3 separate regions of the Homo sapiens genome follow, and all the other regions are linked to region 2. The links are contacts of gene promoters, found by promoter capture Hi-C in human tissues and cell types (Jung and others, 2019). All regions are on one chromosome and are shown on one strand. The core of a region is centred on a gene start or on the middle of the fragment in contact, and the rest is flanking DNA. Distances in the headings are between cores, read along the strand shown.

The links. Contacts are between HindIII fragments. The study calls those that stand out against the background at their distance.
Region 1: a fragment that was not itself captured here is called in contact with the fragment with the promoter of ACVR1 in region 2 in 1 of the 25 tissues and cell types used here (H1 embryonic stem cells).
Region 3: a fragment that was not itself captured here is called in contact with the fragment with the promoter of ACVR1 in region 2 in 1 of the 25 tissues and cell types used here (mesenchymal stem cells).

The regions. Positions count from the first base shown.
Region 1 is chr2:157,743,998-157,748,535 of GRCh38, forward strand. All of the region lies in intron 9 of ACVR1 (activin A receptor type 1), which reads right to left. Among named protein-coding and RNA genes, the nearest start is that of ACVR1C, 120 kb to the left of the region's middle. The HindIII fragment of the contact is 4,548 bases long and covers 1-4,051 here.
Region 2 is chr2:157,874,235-157,878,665 of GRCh38, forward strand. It overlaps ACVR1 (activin A receptor type 1), which reads right to left and starts at 2,096. Exons shown (of 11, transcript NM_001111067.4): 1 at 1,562-2,096. It overlaps LOC105373714 (a long non-coding RNA gene), which reads left to right and starts at 2,350. Exons shown (of 2, transcript XR_923518.3): 1 at 2,350-2,482. RefSeq lists silencers at 1,568-1,777, 1,868-1,917, 1,928-2,147, 2,208-2,447, 2,468-2,657 and an enhancer at 2,043-2,337. The HindIII fragment of the contact is 2,058 bases long and covers 1,220-3,277 here.
Region 3 is chr2:157,669,111-157,674,071 of GRCh38, forward strand. No RefSeq gene overlaps it. Among named protein-coding and RNA genes, the nearest start is that of ACVR1C, 43 kb to the left of the region's middle. The HindIII fragment of the contact is 5,534 bases long and covers 808-4,961 here.

The DNA of each region.
Region 1 (4,538 bases), core at 528-3,027, 130 kb before region 2:
AATTAATGGCAAAGTTAAACTAGAATCCAATTTTCTGTTTATATTCTAGAATTCTCCCTTACAAGCCACCCATGGGATAATGAAAGACATTTCTCTCTCTCCTTGCATCTCATGCCACAGTGTGCCTACTTCTCATTACAAACTCTCTTCATAATCCTCCAACTTGGGTAGTCACATCAGATATCCAGGTAATGAGGACAGAGTCTCTGGCATGTATATCCATACAAAGAGCTATTTTTAACAATTAACTCCTACAGAAGCGCTGAAATCCTTCAGAGGACAGAGCATTAGAAGTAAAGCTATTTTAGAGAGGGAAAAAAAGAAAATGGCCCATATTTGGCATCTGAGAGCACTATAAGTGAATACAGTGTTTCCTTCAGGTGTGGCACGTGAGAAAATTTGATGTGGTTCATGGACTAAACTTTTTCATCTCATTAGTTACATATTTATTTTCATAGTTATCTTCCATTTTATGCCATGTGATACTGGTTTTCCATTTCCAGCAGTGATAATAATTTCCTTTCAAAACAAAATTAACTTTGAAAAGAGTTAGCCAATTTGAAGGAAAAGATTCTGTAAATGATGGCACAAAGTAGCATTTGGATATGGAAAAAAATGATGAGGGCAGTATGAATGAATTGGGAAACACTGAGTTCACAGAAAGGCATCATTCTTCCTGGTGAGACATGATTCAAAAAGGTATATCCAATATTTGGGTTACTTCACCTAACATACCTCACAAGAGGGCTTCGAGATATTTCTCATGCCACGGCACAGATAAAACATGACTAATGAATAAATGGATGAGGCTGTTCATGGCAGAGGGGATGACAGCCCGAGTTCTGGCCGCTTGGCCCGGCCACACTGCCAGAGGGTTATGAGAATCAGTACCTCAGGCATTCCTGTAACTCATGGCAGGCACTTCTTCCTGAAAACAGGAGTTGGAAAGACAGCCTTGTCCCATGCTGGGTAAAGTACATGCTGTGACAGCTGTGTCCTGCCCCTCTAGCCCATTGTAATTCATGGGCTTACGGAGCCATGTACATTACTCAAAGTCCAAACTAATTGCATTCTCAGGAATCTGTTAAAATTATAAAATTAATTTCTATTGTTGGAATTCTCATCGATGTAACACAGCAAAAGTAAATGGTTTATAGATTACTGTGTAGTTGGACCCTACTAAAAGCATGTGTCAATATTACTGTAAGTTGTCAAAGGAGAGGGCAAAAAGCCTAGAGATGCTGCATGGCTATTCCCTGGGTTAAACTATGAACAAGACAGCCTTAGAGCTTGCATACCTCCAAAATCGAGAAAGAGAGGAGCACCACAAGAGTTCCAAACATTTGGTAGCTATGAAGAAAGGCTTCTTCAGAAAAATGTATCATTCACTGAATGTTGTGGCTGTTACAAGGTTTAGGATACAGATATTTCTCTTGGTGAAAGACTGCTTTTAGAAGTGTGTCAAGGAAAAGAGACTACTAGTCAGTAAACAGCAGCCAATAAAGTTTTGCAGCCTTCAACTTATTTTGTCATGAGGTTAGTTGACTACTCTCCTCTGTTCTGGATCTCTAAATCAGGGACATGAAATTCCAGGAAGTCAGGGGGAAAATAATTCTTCCCTCCCACCCCACCTCCATATTCCTGCCCCCAGTCATTGTCCTAAATGTTAAAACAAACAAAAAAACTGAAATTAATGAATACAAAAAATTGGCCCTAATATGATTTATCCTCTTATGCAAACCTTAATACACACAAAAGTAGGTAATTAACGTCATGAAACATGTTGGATATTGAGTTGCTGACAAAAATAGGAGTTGTCATGGTTTCCATACACAAGCCCCATTGCACTTAGGAGCAGAAGCACAAGCAGCTCCCTGGCTGACTCAAAGATTCATTAGAAGAGGTTCTTTTTTCAAAGTAAGTGCACCAAATATAAGCTTATTCTAACAAGTATGTCCTAGTCCCCACCCCATAAGAGGCACAACTTGGTCAGCAAGGATTTTTCTACAAGATACAAATGGTTTTTGACACATTTTAACCCTGGATTCCATCACAAAATAATCAAAGCCAGTAACAGTGAAACAAGAGTATGTCCACAGAGCCTTCCTGTGGGCAGTGAAGAGGGGAAACAAATGTACTAGGGCCAAGAGGTAGCAAAACAAGAGGCAGAAGACGGCCACTGTGATCTGCAAGCTCCTGGGTGGCCTTCATCACCCATTTTCCGTGGAAAGGAAACCATACCAAAGCACTTTCTATATGCCAGACACACATGAGATGCTTTACATATACGATCTCATTTAATCACCATAACCCTTTAAAGTAGATATTATTATTTTTTAAATAACGAAACTGATGTAAGTCATCGAGTCAGAGAGTATGACGTCAGACTCTGGAATGTTAGTGATTCCACTTCACTGCCTCCCACAGACCCAGCACAAACCCCACACAGCTCCGGAGTGCACTCTTCACACAGACTTCTGTATGCAGTGCAATGGCCCTAAGAGAACCACAGCAAGGAAGACAGAAGCACATCATGCTAATGTATCCAACCAAATTGGTGTTTGTCTATTCAATCTGGGTACACCGTCTTTTTTCAAAAACTCTCGTGTGTATTTGGCTGGGAGCCTCGGCATCACATTTTCTTACCCTAGAACTACTAAATCAGAAATGCTGGGGCTGGGCCCCGGGAATCTGTGTCTTCAGTACTCTAGGTGACTGTGATGCACATTCCAGTTTAAAAACTATCGATCCGAGTGAACCCCTGCCTTAAGTTCATATGGAAAATTCACACAGGGAAGGTAAGAAAGCCGTTTTCTTTCCTACCAATTCCAAATTCAATGTCAAATTAAACACCAAAAGTAAATTCCAAAGGACACTATTGAGAAATGCTCAGATGCAAAAATGGACTTAACTCTCATTTCCTGTAAAGAAACAGCATGAGGTTTATTATTAGTAGCAAATAAATGTAAAATTCCAATAAAAAATATAAAAATGCAACATATTTTTATGCTCATGGTTCACTTGAGGATCATATTACTCCAAGAGATCTATCTGGTCATCAATTTTTATAATGCATTCAGAAACTCAAAGGATGTATCATTATAATGACCTTCCTCACAGAAGATATTCATATATTTAAATGAGATACATTTTATATGCAATAATTTCAAAAATATATATTCTTTTAATGACAGTTCCTAAAGCTGCTAAGAAAATGAAATAGGCACATCACACCCTAGGGTATGGGGGATATTGTAAATTAGTACAGCTTTTATGAAAAGCAACTTGGCAATATGTGTCAAGCCATAAAAACATCCACATTCTTTGACCTATTAAGTCTACTTATTTTCAGATTAAGAATCATTTCCCTGAACGAAATCATCATGTGCACAAAAATGTCTACAATAGGCCCCAAATGGTGGAAACAGGATATCTAACAATATGGAAATGGTTAAGCTAATAAGATGTCATGTGACCATTTAAAATAAAAACAGCCTATTAAGCAAGATTAAAAAAAATACGAATAAAAAAGATGATACGGAATTATATCTATATATGATTACAACTAAGTTTTAAAAATGGGTGCATACAGAAGTAGAAAAAGATGTGAATGTTAAAATTTGAAGGCACAATTTCTCCTACTCATTTTTTTTCTGTTTTGGGAGAGTAATAATTAAAAGACTAACAGTAGTAAAACAGGTTTGCAAGCAGCATTGAATACTTTCAGGTTTAAGTTTAGATAAACTGATTTGTGTGTGGGGGGGTGTACATTGTGTGTATACACACGTGAATGTTCATAGAAGAGGGAACAGAGAACAAAAGAGAAAATATCAAATTAGTCATTGCCAAAGGACAGTGGCTGATTTTAAATGAGACAGGAGATACCCTTATCTCCCCTCTAAAAAAATCAAACCACATTACAGCACAGAAGCTCAACCCACAACATTCTGGGAACCAGTTAACAGTCTTGGTGATGATGCAAGGGAGAGATCAATAAATTAGAAAACAATCAAAACATTCTCCCTTCCTCTACCTTCCTTTTTTTTCTTTTTCTTCCAAAAATAATGTTAAACACAGGAACTACCAAGCAAGCCACCATTTGTTGAGCTAAATTTTAAACTGATGACTCTGACTTCCAACTGACTACTATTAATCACAGCTGATCTTTAAAAGCCACTTGGGTTTATGCCTGCAACACAGGGAACGGGTTTGCAACACGAGTTCTTACAAAGCCTGAATCCCAAGTCTCTGCTGAGCAGGCCTGCTTGGCTCAGCTCTGGCACCCCCACAGCTGGAAATGCTACTGTCTAGCTATGGAATGCCAACTTCCTCTTCATTTGGGGCAAGTTCCACATCATACAGTTTATTTGGACACCAATCCTTCTCTAAATTGTTTGTTAAGATAAACTAATCAGAATTAAAATTTTCAGTTCGAAGGTGTTTAAGAATGATTGGGGAGGGGGTGAGGAAATGAAGCTGACGTGCAATTTCAGGCAAAGTTCAGAACTTTATAAATCTGCAAAACAATTTCTCTGTTG
Region 2 (4,431 bases), core at 846-3,345:
AAGGCCTAGATTTCAGCTTCAAAAGAATTCCATTTTTTAAAATTCCAAGACAGAAAATAAAAACAAGTGAATCATAAAATAAGTGATCGAGGTCCCATCCAGGCATAAGATAACCTCCTGACCCCTATGTCCCCATCAGTGAAATGGATGAGGCCCATATTTCAAACTTAAGCAGTCTGCACACTATGAAGCTGCATGGCGAGGCCGATGTCTGAGGTCAGCACAAGTCTAGTGTCTGCTGGCTGCCCAAGCCTGGGCCCCTGGCCAGCAACCCACCTCCAGAGACAAGTGCCAGGACATACTATAGTGTTTCCATTTAAGGCCCGCCACTTGGATCAGCCCATCTCTGAAATTTCTTAACACCACCTTTCCAGGAAGAATTTTTTTGGGGAAAAGGGAGGTGGTGTCTATTTTTTGCCACCGCCTTCCCTTGGGCTGTCAGAGCAATCTGCATCTCTGGGACAGGATTCTTTAAAACCACTGGGTTATGTCTCAATTCATGGGCCTCTTCTCAAAAATATGTAAAAACATGTATGGAACGGGCCCCTTTGCCCATCATCTAACTCTTATCATACATCCCTCAAAAAAGAAAGAAAAGCCCAATAAAATTGACAAGTCCATTGTATTACCTTGCTGCCTCTCTCCAAAAGCCAAATTCATGACAACTTTTTAACCAAGACTTTTCTTCTGTTACTAAGTGGAACGTTTTCTTCTCTAAGTAGCTTTTCTCCCATGCAAGCAGCGTTCAAATCTCCAGGGGAAAGGAGGGGTGGGGAGGGGGTGGGAGACTATCTGGCACAAACTGGACAGAGCCGAGCCAGTCTAGAACCCGACGGAAGTTACTGAATCCAGCGGCCCCAGAGGCCCACATCTCTTCTTAGTGCGCCCGAGGTTCTAGCCTCACTGTTTTGGTTACAGTGTTGAAGGAAGGGTTTTAAACTTGGCAAAGTACCGTGCAACATCTGTAACCACATTTGCCTTCTGGGGATCGGAAGATGAATCCCACATTCCTGGCTTTGAAGCTTTTTGAAACTGCAGCTAGGAAGAACCGAGGGAGGGAGGGAGTTGAGCAGAGTTTATTGGCTGTCTCTCCAGCAGAAAATTCCTCTTGGAAGAGATGGATATTTTGAGGGTGGGGGAAATTCGCCTATCTATCTCCTTACTCTCTACAAGCTCAGCTAGGAAGGTAAGCCCCGTGGCCCCGCGGCCAGATCGATTTACAAGTCAGAGTCGCACACCCTGAAGGAGTTCACAACACACACACACACACACACGCACTCACACACACCCCAATACAAACCTGAGACCCCCGCTCCACGCCTCTGCCCCCCCACCCCCCATATCCCACCAGCAGTTCAGGCCCAAAGCAAGACAGTTTTGTTCCGCGGCTGCTTCCCCCACGGAGAGGGGATCAAGCTTGGGGGAGAAAGGAATGAAAGCGAGGGGGAGGCACCGCAGACGCCCACCCTGCCACCCCCGATCCCTGCCTCTTCTCCCGCTAGGCTACCTCCTCCCTCAGTCCTCCCGGCTCCAGCAGGCGCGGCCGGCGACCTGCGCTCACCTCGGGTCCCGCCGCGGCCGGGGGCTGAGCCGGGGGAGGCGGAGTGCGAGGCAGCCGGGCGCTGCAGGTCGGCGCGGCGCGGGGCGGCGCGGGGCGGGGCGGGGCGGTGCAGCCGGCGAGGGAGCCCGGAACTCTGCGGGGCCGGGAGCCGGGGGCCGAGGGCCGGCCCAGAGCGGCGGCGGCTGCGGTGGCTGCAGCGGAGCGGTGCGTGGGGCCGGGAGCTTCCCGGCCCTGGGGCCGGCGCGGCTGGCCGAGGAGCAGGCTGGCAGCGGCAGCGGCGGCAGCGGCAGCCACCCGGGGGAAAGAGCCGGGGGAGGGCGGGGAGGCGGGGTGAAGAGGAGGAGGAAGGGGAGGAGGGCGGGCAGAATAAACTTCCCGAGGCGCAGAGGCTCGGGCTGGGAGCACGACCGCGGGCGGGGCGGGCGGACCAGCTGGGCTTGCCCCCGGGGGCGGCGGGGGAGACCGTCACAGAGAGTAGAAAAGTTCCCCCTGCGCCGAGGGGGAGGCTGCGGCGGCGGCGGCGGCTGCAAAGAGCAGGAGCCGGAGCGGGAGGAGCGGGAGGAGGAGGAGGAGGAAGTGGCTGCGGAGCGCTCGGCCAATGAGTGTCTGGAGCTGTGATTAACCAGGCAGCAACACATCATTTCCTCCCGGCGCGGATCCAGGGAGCCGGGAGGGGAGAGAGGAGGCGGCGGGGCGGGGCCGTCCCCGCGCCCCCTGCAGGCGCCCGGCCGAGGGCGAGCCCGCCGAGCCCCGCCGAGCCTGACCGCGCCGCCCCCGGCGCGCCTGGCGCTGTCTGGCCGGTCGCTTGGCCCGGGTGGAAGCTATGAGCGCGCCGCCAGCGGGGCTCCTCGGAGGCGGCGGGGCAGGCCCGAGCTGGGCTCCTGTGGCCGGGGTGGGAGGAGAAGAGGCCGCGCGGCACGGGTGAGTGCCCAGGTAGGCGCGGGCGGGGCCGTCTGGACAGCTCCCGAGGGCGCGCGGGGCAGGCGGGCGGACGGGCGGGCATCCCGGGCCCGGCGACTGCGGGCGGCCACCTACTCGAGCCCTGCATGTCAGACTTGGGCTGGATTCTCAGAGAGAAGCCTTAGCATTCTCATCCAGGCCATCTCTGACCTGCCTTCAGATCCCCTTCCACTTTGCTCATTTCCTTGCAAGGTCTAGGGTTATGACAGAGCTTGCCATGTTCGCCTTTGGCTTCCTTAGTAACAGAAATAAGCATGGAGGGGCTTCTGCAGTGATCTAGCCCTGTCCTAGGCGCCATGGGAGCTTACAGTGGAAATGCAGGAACATTCTCCGCTGCAGAGAGTCTGATAACCTCGGTCCTTAGATACACAAAAACACCCCAGTGTGCTAATATTACCCAGAGCATCAAAAAGGCATGCAAGGATCAAATTTTGCATGGTTCCTGCTGAGTGTAAAGGAAAGCACTAAGCCATTTTCTCTGCCCTCTAGAAGCTTATAATGTACAGTCCTATCACAAAGCAGAATAAAAACATGAAACCTATAAATGGGAATGCCATAAAGTATTTTTATCTCTACAGGTTCATTCATGCAGAGGGCATTTATTGGGTGACTGCAGTACTGCAAAAGGTTGCAAAGGAAATGGAAGATCTGGTCCCTGCAGGTTGGGAGTTTACAATCTAATTAGAAATACAAGGCATATATACGTGAAAAAACTAGAATCCCCAGCTGTAAGCAAAAGGATGGAGTAGGTGGGAGCATTTTTTTCATAAAGAGAGCTTTGTACCTGTATGATTGGTGAGGAGCAGGAGAGGCAAGTTCAGTACCAATCAAGGCAAGAGCACCTATATGTATCCCTGCTCTATAGAATGATGTAACAGGGCCCTCATTGTCACTTGGCTGAAGTGTCAGCTCTGCCACTTACAAACTGTTTTGAACTGGGGCACATTTTTAACCTAAGAAGGGAATACAGGTTGTCTCGTGAGGTGGTTGTGCAGTTCAAATGAGATTACAAACGTGAAAGCTTGTGAAGCTCAATGATGTACATTCATGGAGTCCTCATTGTACAAACTGGCCCTTCTTGGTAACCTTTAGAGTTCCCTCCCAGGCTGTAAGCTGCAAGAGGGCAGGGACCAGGTCTGATTGTATTCATCATGTATCACAATGTTTAGCAGAAGGGTTCATGTGGGTGTTCAATAAAGTTTTGCTGAGTAGGTAAATAAATGAATTAATGAATCCTGTTATGCTCTGAACAGTTCCTATTATTTGTTCCTTAAGCAGTTCCTTCAATAGTGGTCTTATTGTATGGCTGGCTCAGTGAAAAACACTCTAACTCAACCTCCTGTGACTTACTAGTGTGCCAGGAGACTGGGAGAATTCTGGATGGTACTGTCAGAGGCATTCAAACCAGAGAAACTCCATTTTGAATGAGGGCTAGGAAAATGAGACTGAGACTGGCTGGGCTGCATTCTCGGGAAGTTAGGCTTTCTTAGCCTCTAGATGTTTACAGCTAAGGGAACAAATTAATAGTGTTTACTAAACAAACCCAGACTTGGGAGTGTCCAGATATCCCGATATCTGGAGAACAAAGGCATTCCTAATTTTGCTTTAAAGATAATATTGATTCTTGCAAAATATAGTAATTTATTTATTTATCACAAACTCTTGTAGCAGAGCACATCTCCCTATATATACGAGCGATGTACCTAGCATGGAATCGTTCCTCCTCTTACTTTCGGCAACATCCTACTTTGTCTATGGAGTAGGTGTCCTTTCACCACTTTGCTTTCTTAATAAACTGGCTTTTACTTTACACTGCGGACTCGCCCTGAATTCTTTCTTGCGTGAGATCCAAGAACCCTCTCTTGGGGTCTGGATTGGGACCCCTGCCCTAAAACATATTCCTGGCAACC
Region 3 (4,961 bases), core at 2,325-4,824, 200 kb before region 2:
TTAGTGTTTAGATTTGAGTTCTAGATATTTCCTTAGACCGGTCTACCAAATGTCCTTGTGAGAATTACTGGGGCTATACATCTGCTTCCGTGCTCAGGCCTCCGGCTGACCTTTAGAAATGATTCAGCCCTTTTCCCCGAAGCTTCTGAATCCTCCTCGACACATTGTTCAAGACAGTCTCTACTAAATAACCAGTTGAGGCCTATGCGCTATTTCTGATGCCCAAGACCTATCTGCCCATACTGCCAGCTTACCTTCCAAGCCATGTTTTTCCAGTCATTGTCTCTCTCCTTCTCATTCTTTCATATATACCTGAATCACCTAATAATGCTAAATCTGTAAAGTTGCCATAGCACTCAATGTTCTACTCCACCCCAGAGACTTGAAGTTTTCTCTGCCCCTTAAGCTCTTTCAGGTCTGAAGGCCTTGGTCTTCTGGCTAGATTTTGAATCACTTGCTCCTTTCTCCATGAGTATTTTTTTTTCCTCCTCACGTGACATTCCGAAGATTCTATTCTTAAACTCATCAGTTAAGGTCTTCCAGACTGAACTTCAGTAAGCGCAATTTTCTATGCTTCTGAATCTCCAGGAAAAATAGAAAGTGTGAATACTCAGAAGAACCCTAGGAAACATTAACAAAGGAAAAAACCCAGAAAGAATTCTAAAAGATCCACTAAGTCCTGTTGAACATAGTCTTCAGTCCCTTCATTAGCACACTATGATTGTGAATGCCAGATTTGCTAATGTTAATAACAGGAAGTGGGCCGGGCGCCGTGGCTCACGCCTGTAATCCCAGCACTTTGGGAGGCCAAGGTGGCGGATCACGAGGTCAGGAGATCGAGATCATCCTGGCTAACACAGTGAAACCCCGTCTCTACTAAAAATACAAAAAATTAGTCGGTCGTGGTGGCGGCTGCCTGTAGTCCCAGCTATTCGGGAGGCTGAGGCAGGAGAATGGCGTGAACCCAGGAGGCGGAGCTTGCAGTGAGCCAAGATGGCACCACTGCACTCCAGCCTGGGCGACAGAGCAAGACTCCATCTCAAAAAAAAACAAAAAAAAAACAGGAACTGGGTCTCCAATTAGTAACATAGTTTCATGAGTAGGGTTGTTGATGATGGAAAATTCCTAGAAGATGGGATAGTTTATATATAAATGCATAATATTCCCAAATCCAATCCTCCACCTATGTCAAAGTCAGTGACTCTTACTATGTATACAACCTGAACTCAAGAAACAGATATATTTCATTGTTTACTGGCATAAATTAAGCCAAACTGAGTTGTTCCAAGTCTGTAACAACACTTACTGTCTCTCCATTCCTAGTGCACCTTTTCGCTAAGGAACTGCTTTTCATTCATCCCATGTGATCAAGGCCTGATCAGTCATCCTCTTGCTATCATTACTGGTCCACAAAGTAGGCAGTCAGGGTTCCCTCCAGACTTTTTTTTATATATATGGGCGCTAAGACTGAAGCTTCTCTAATCTTCCAATATGAAAACTCTGTATGGGCCACAGACTCAAGTTGGCCATAATTCCCATCACATGGACAAAGTCTGACTAAAAGTCAAGTCAACACAGAGGAAAGCAGAGCCAGGAGATAAATAAATTTTTGCTGACATTATCTAAGCATCCAGATCCATTCATATCTGACTCATTCTACCAATGACTTTGTCAATCACGTAGGTCAATAAAAATTTTTTTCTTGCTTAAAGTGTTTTAAGATGGGTTTCAGTCAACAGAAGAAACCTGATTAATATGTACATGTATATAAAATATGCTTTATATATATGAAATATGATCTTGAAATTTGGGAAACCCAAACTATATATTAAAATATACTCATTGGAGCTGCCACTATTCTAACTTTCTGTATCTAAACTACTCCCCTGAGTTGCTACCACCAAAGACCTAGGGATGAGCTAAGAAACAAAAGCAAGAATGACTTCGATTTATTTCTCCTTTAGTTGGGTGACTCCACCTGCCTCTTGAGGTAGGTAGGTGGCTCTCCTTTGTTTTTTTTTTTAATTTTTGAAGCACAGGTTTATTTTTCCCTCTTGCAAAATTATTATTATCTTTTTTTTATTATTATACTTTAAGTTCTAGGGTACATGTGCACAACATGCAGGTTTGTTACATATGTATACATGTGCCATGTTGGTGTGCTGCACCCATTAACTTGTCATTTACATTAGGTATATCTCCTAATGCTATCCCTCCCCGCTCCCCCAATCCCACAACAGGACCCAGTGTGTGATGTTCCCCTTCCTGTGTCCAAGTGTTCTCATTGTTCAATTCCCACCTATGAGTGAGAACATGCAGTGTTTGGTTTTTTGTCCTTGCAATAGTTTGCTTAGAATGATGGTTTCCAGCTTCATCCATGTCCCTACAAAGGACATGAACTCATCCTTTTTTATGGCTGCATAGTATTCCATGGTGTATATGTGCCACATTTTCTTAATCCAGTCTATCGTTGATGGACATTTGGGTTGGTTCCAAGTCTTTGCTATTGTGAATAATGCTGCAATAAACATATGTGTGCATGTGTCTTTATAGAAGCATGACTTATAATCCTTTGGGTATATATCCAGTAATGGGATGGCTGGGTCAAATGGTATTTCTAGTTCTAGATCCCTGAGGAATCAGGTAGGTGGCTTTTCTTATCTCCTCTATATTACAACTAAAGAAATGCCATTAACATTCCTATCACTAACACAGCATGCACCCTCCCAATTTATACTCATATTTGTATATTAGGTGGTCCCTCCTTAGCCTCTGGGGTCTTAAATTCCAAGCCCTCCAGTGGATGCCTGAAACCATGGATAGTACCAAACCCTATATATACCATGTTTTGTCCTATACATATATAATTATGATAAAGTTTAATTTATAAATCAGGCACCGTAAGAAAGTAAAAACAACTAATAATAAAACACAACAACTATAACAGTATACTGTAATAAAAGTTATTTGAATGTGATCTCTCTCTCTTAAGTATCTTATTACAATGTACTTACCCTTCTTGCAATGACGTGAGATGATAAAAATGCCTACATGATGAGAGAAAGTGAAATGAATGACGTAGGTGTTGTGATGTATGTAGTGTTAGGCTATTATTTACCTTCTGGTGCTACATTAGAAAGAGGATCATCTGCTTCAGGTGATCCTGGGTCATGGAGCCATGACGATTTTGATGGTCAGATGTCAGGAGCAGATGATGTCGATGACTAACCGACGGGTAGCATGTACAGCGTGGATACGCTGGACAAAGGGATGATTCACATCCTGGGCGGGATGGAGTGGGAAGGTGTGAGATTTCACCACACTATTCAGAAGGGCACACAATTTAAAACTTATGAATTGTTTATGTCTGGAATTTTCCATTTAATATTTTCAAACCGTGGTTGACTGCAGGTAACTGAAACCATGGGAAGTGAAACCGTGAACTGGGGGGACTACTGTAATATCTTTCTCCCTGATGAAATTGTGAGACCCTCGAGGAAAAAGACATATTCGTTTGTGTCCCCCAGAGCCCAGAGTGAAAGATCTGTCTCAAGAGTGTTTTCTGGGGATTTTTTAAAGTTGTCATGTGAAGTATTAGTTTTCCATACAAGAATGCTTCAATGATTTATTATGATTCTGAAGTTTCATTAGAGGCAGCAACTGCAAAGCAATCACTAAAACAGATTCTGGGTGAAAAATAGTTTGCTGTGTTGAATGTAGGCTCAAGCCTACAATTCTGTAGACTCAGCTTCTTCTAACTAAGCACACTCCTTAGTTAAATATTCTGCACAACTGTTCATTTACTTACTTCTGTGCCATAAAGCTAGAATAACTTAGGGAATTAGAACATTCTGGTGAATGTCTTACAGCTAACCTGAAATACCTTCATGTCTACTCTCACTGCTAAAACCTCTTCTGAAATGTCTAAGTTTCCACTTTACTAAGTAAAGATAGAACATAATTTAATGTTTATTTGATACAATATATTTTAGTGCCGTCAGGTCATCATTTGCAATGTCTTTTTGTCATTTAGATACAGAAAGTGTAGAATGTGGCCCCACATCTCTTCAGCCCCAGAACACATACCAGAATATTTATTTTTAAATTTAACTAAATTCCCGGTTGTTACTTTTGAATTTGTTTCTCTCACCTAGAAGCTGAGTGCAGTGGGGAAAATAATCAAATCAGCTGAAGGATTTGCACTTCTACTGTACTGTATTTAGATGAAGTCAAAGTTCATGAATGAGGCCGGGCACGGTGGCTCATGCCTGTAATCCCAGCACTTTGGGAGGCTGAGGCAGGCAGATCACCTGAGGTCAGGAGTTTGGGACCGGCCTGGCCAACATGGTGAAACCCCGTCTCTACTAAAAATACAAAAAATTAGCCAGGTGTGGTGGTGGGCACCTGTAATCCCAGCCTACTCGGGAGGCTGAGGCAGGAGAATTGCTTGAACCCGGGAGGCAGAGGTTGCAGTGAACTGAGATCACGCCATTGCACTCCAGCCTGCACAACAGAGCAAGATTCTGTCTCAAAAACAAAGAAACAAAACAAAACAAAAAAACAAAGTTCATGAGTTCATGAATGAGGCTTACTTTTATATACTATACTGTCAGTCTTTGGTAACCCCTCATTTAAGTCAGAATTGACACATTAAGAGACACAAATGCTATTATAATACACATACATTGAGGGGCCCTACATTTTCCAAGGCACAAGGAACAGTGGAATTGCCACTAGACTGAATGCGGTCAACATCTATATTTGTTAGAGTAGAAGAAAAAGCAGACCTTCAAATATATGTTTACATTCCTGGAAAAAGATTTGGAAAAAGATACCACAAAGAGATCAGAAGAGATCCCAGCCACAGACTTTTGGAAACTGAAAAAGAGATGGATGACTTAGCAGACCCAAGAAGCTAAATCCTAAACTGGCAGTGAGGAGAAGCGAGAAGCAGCTCATTT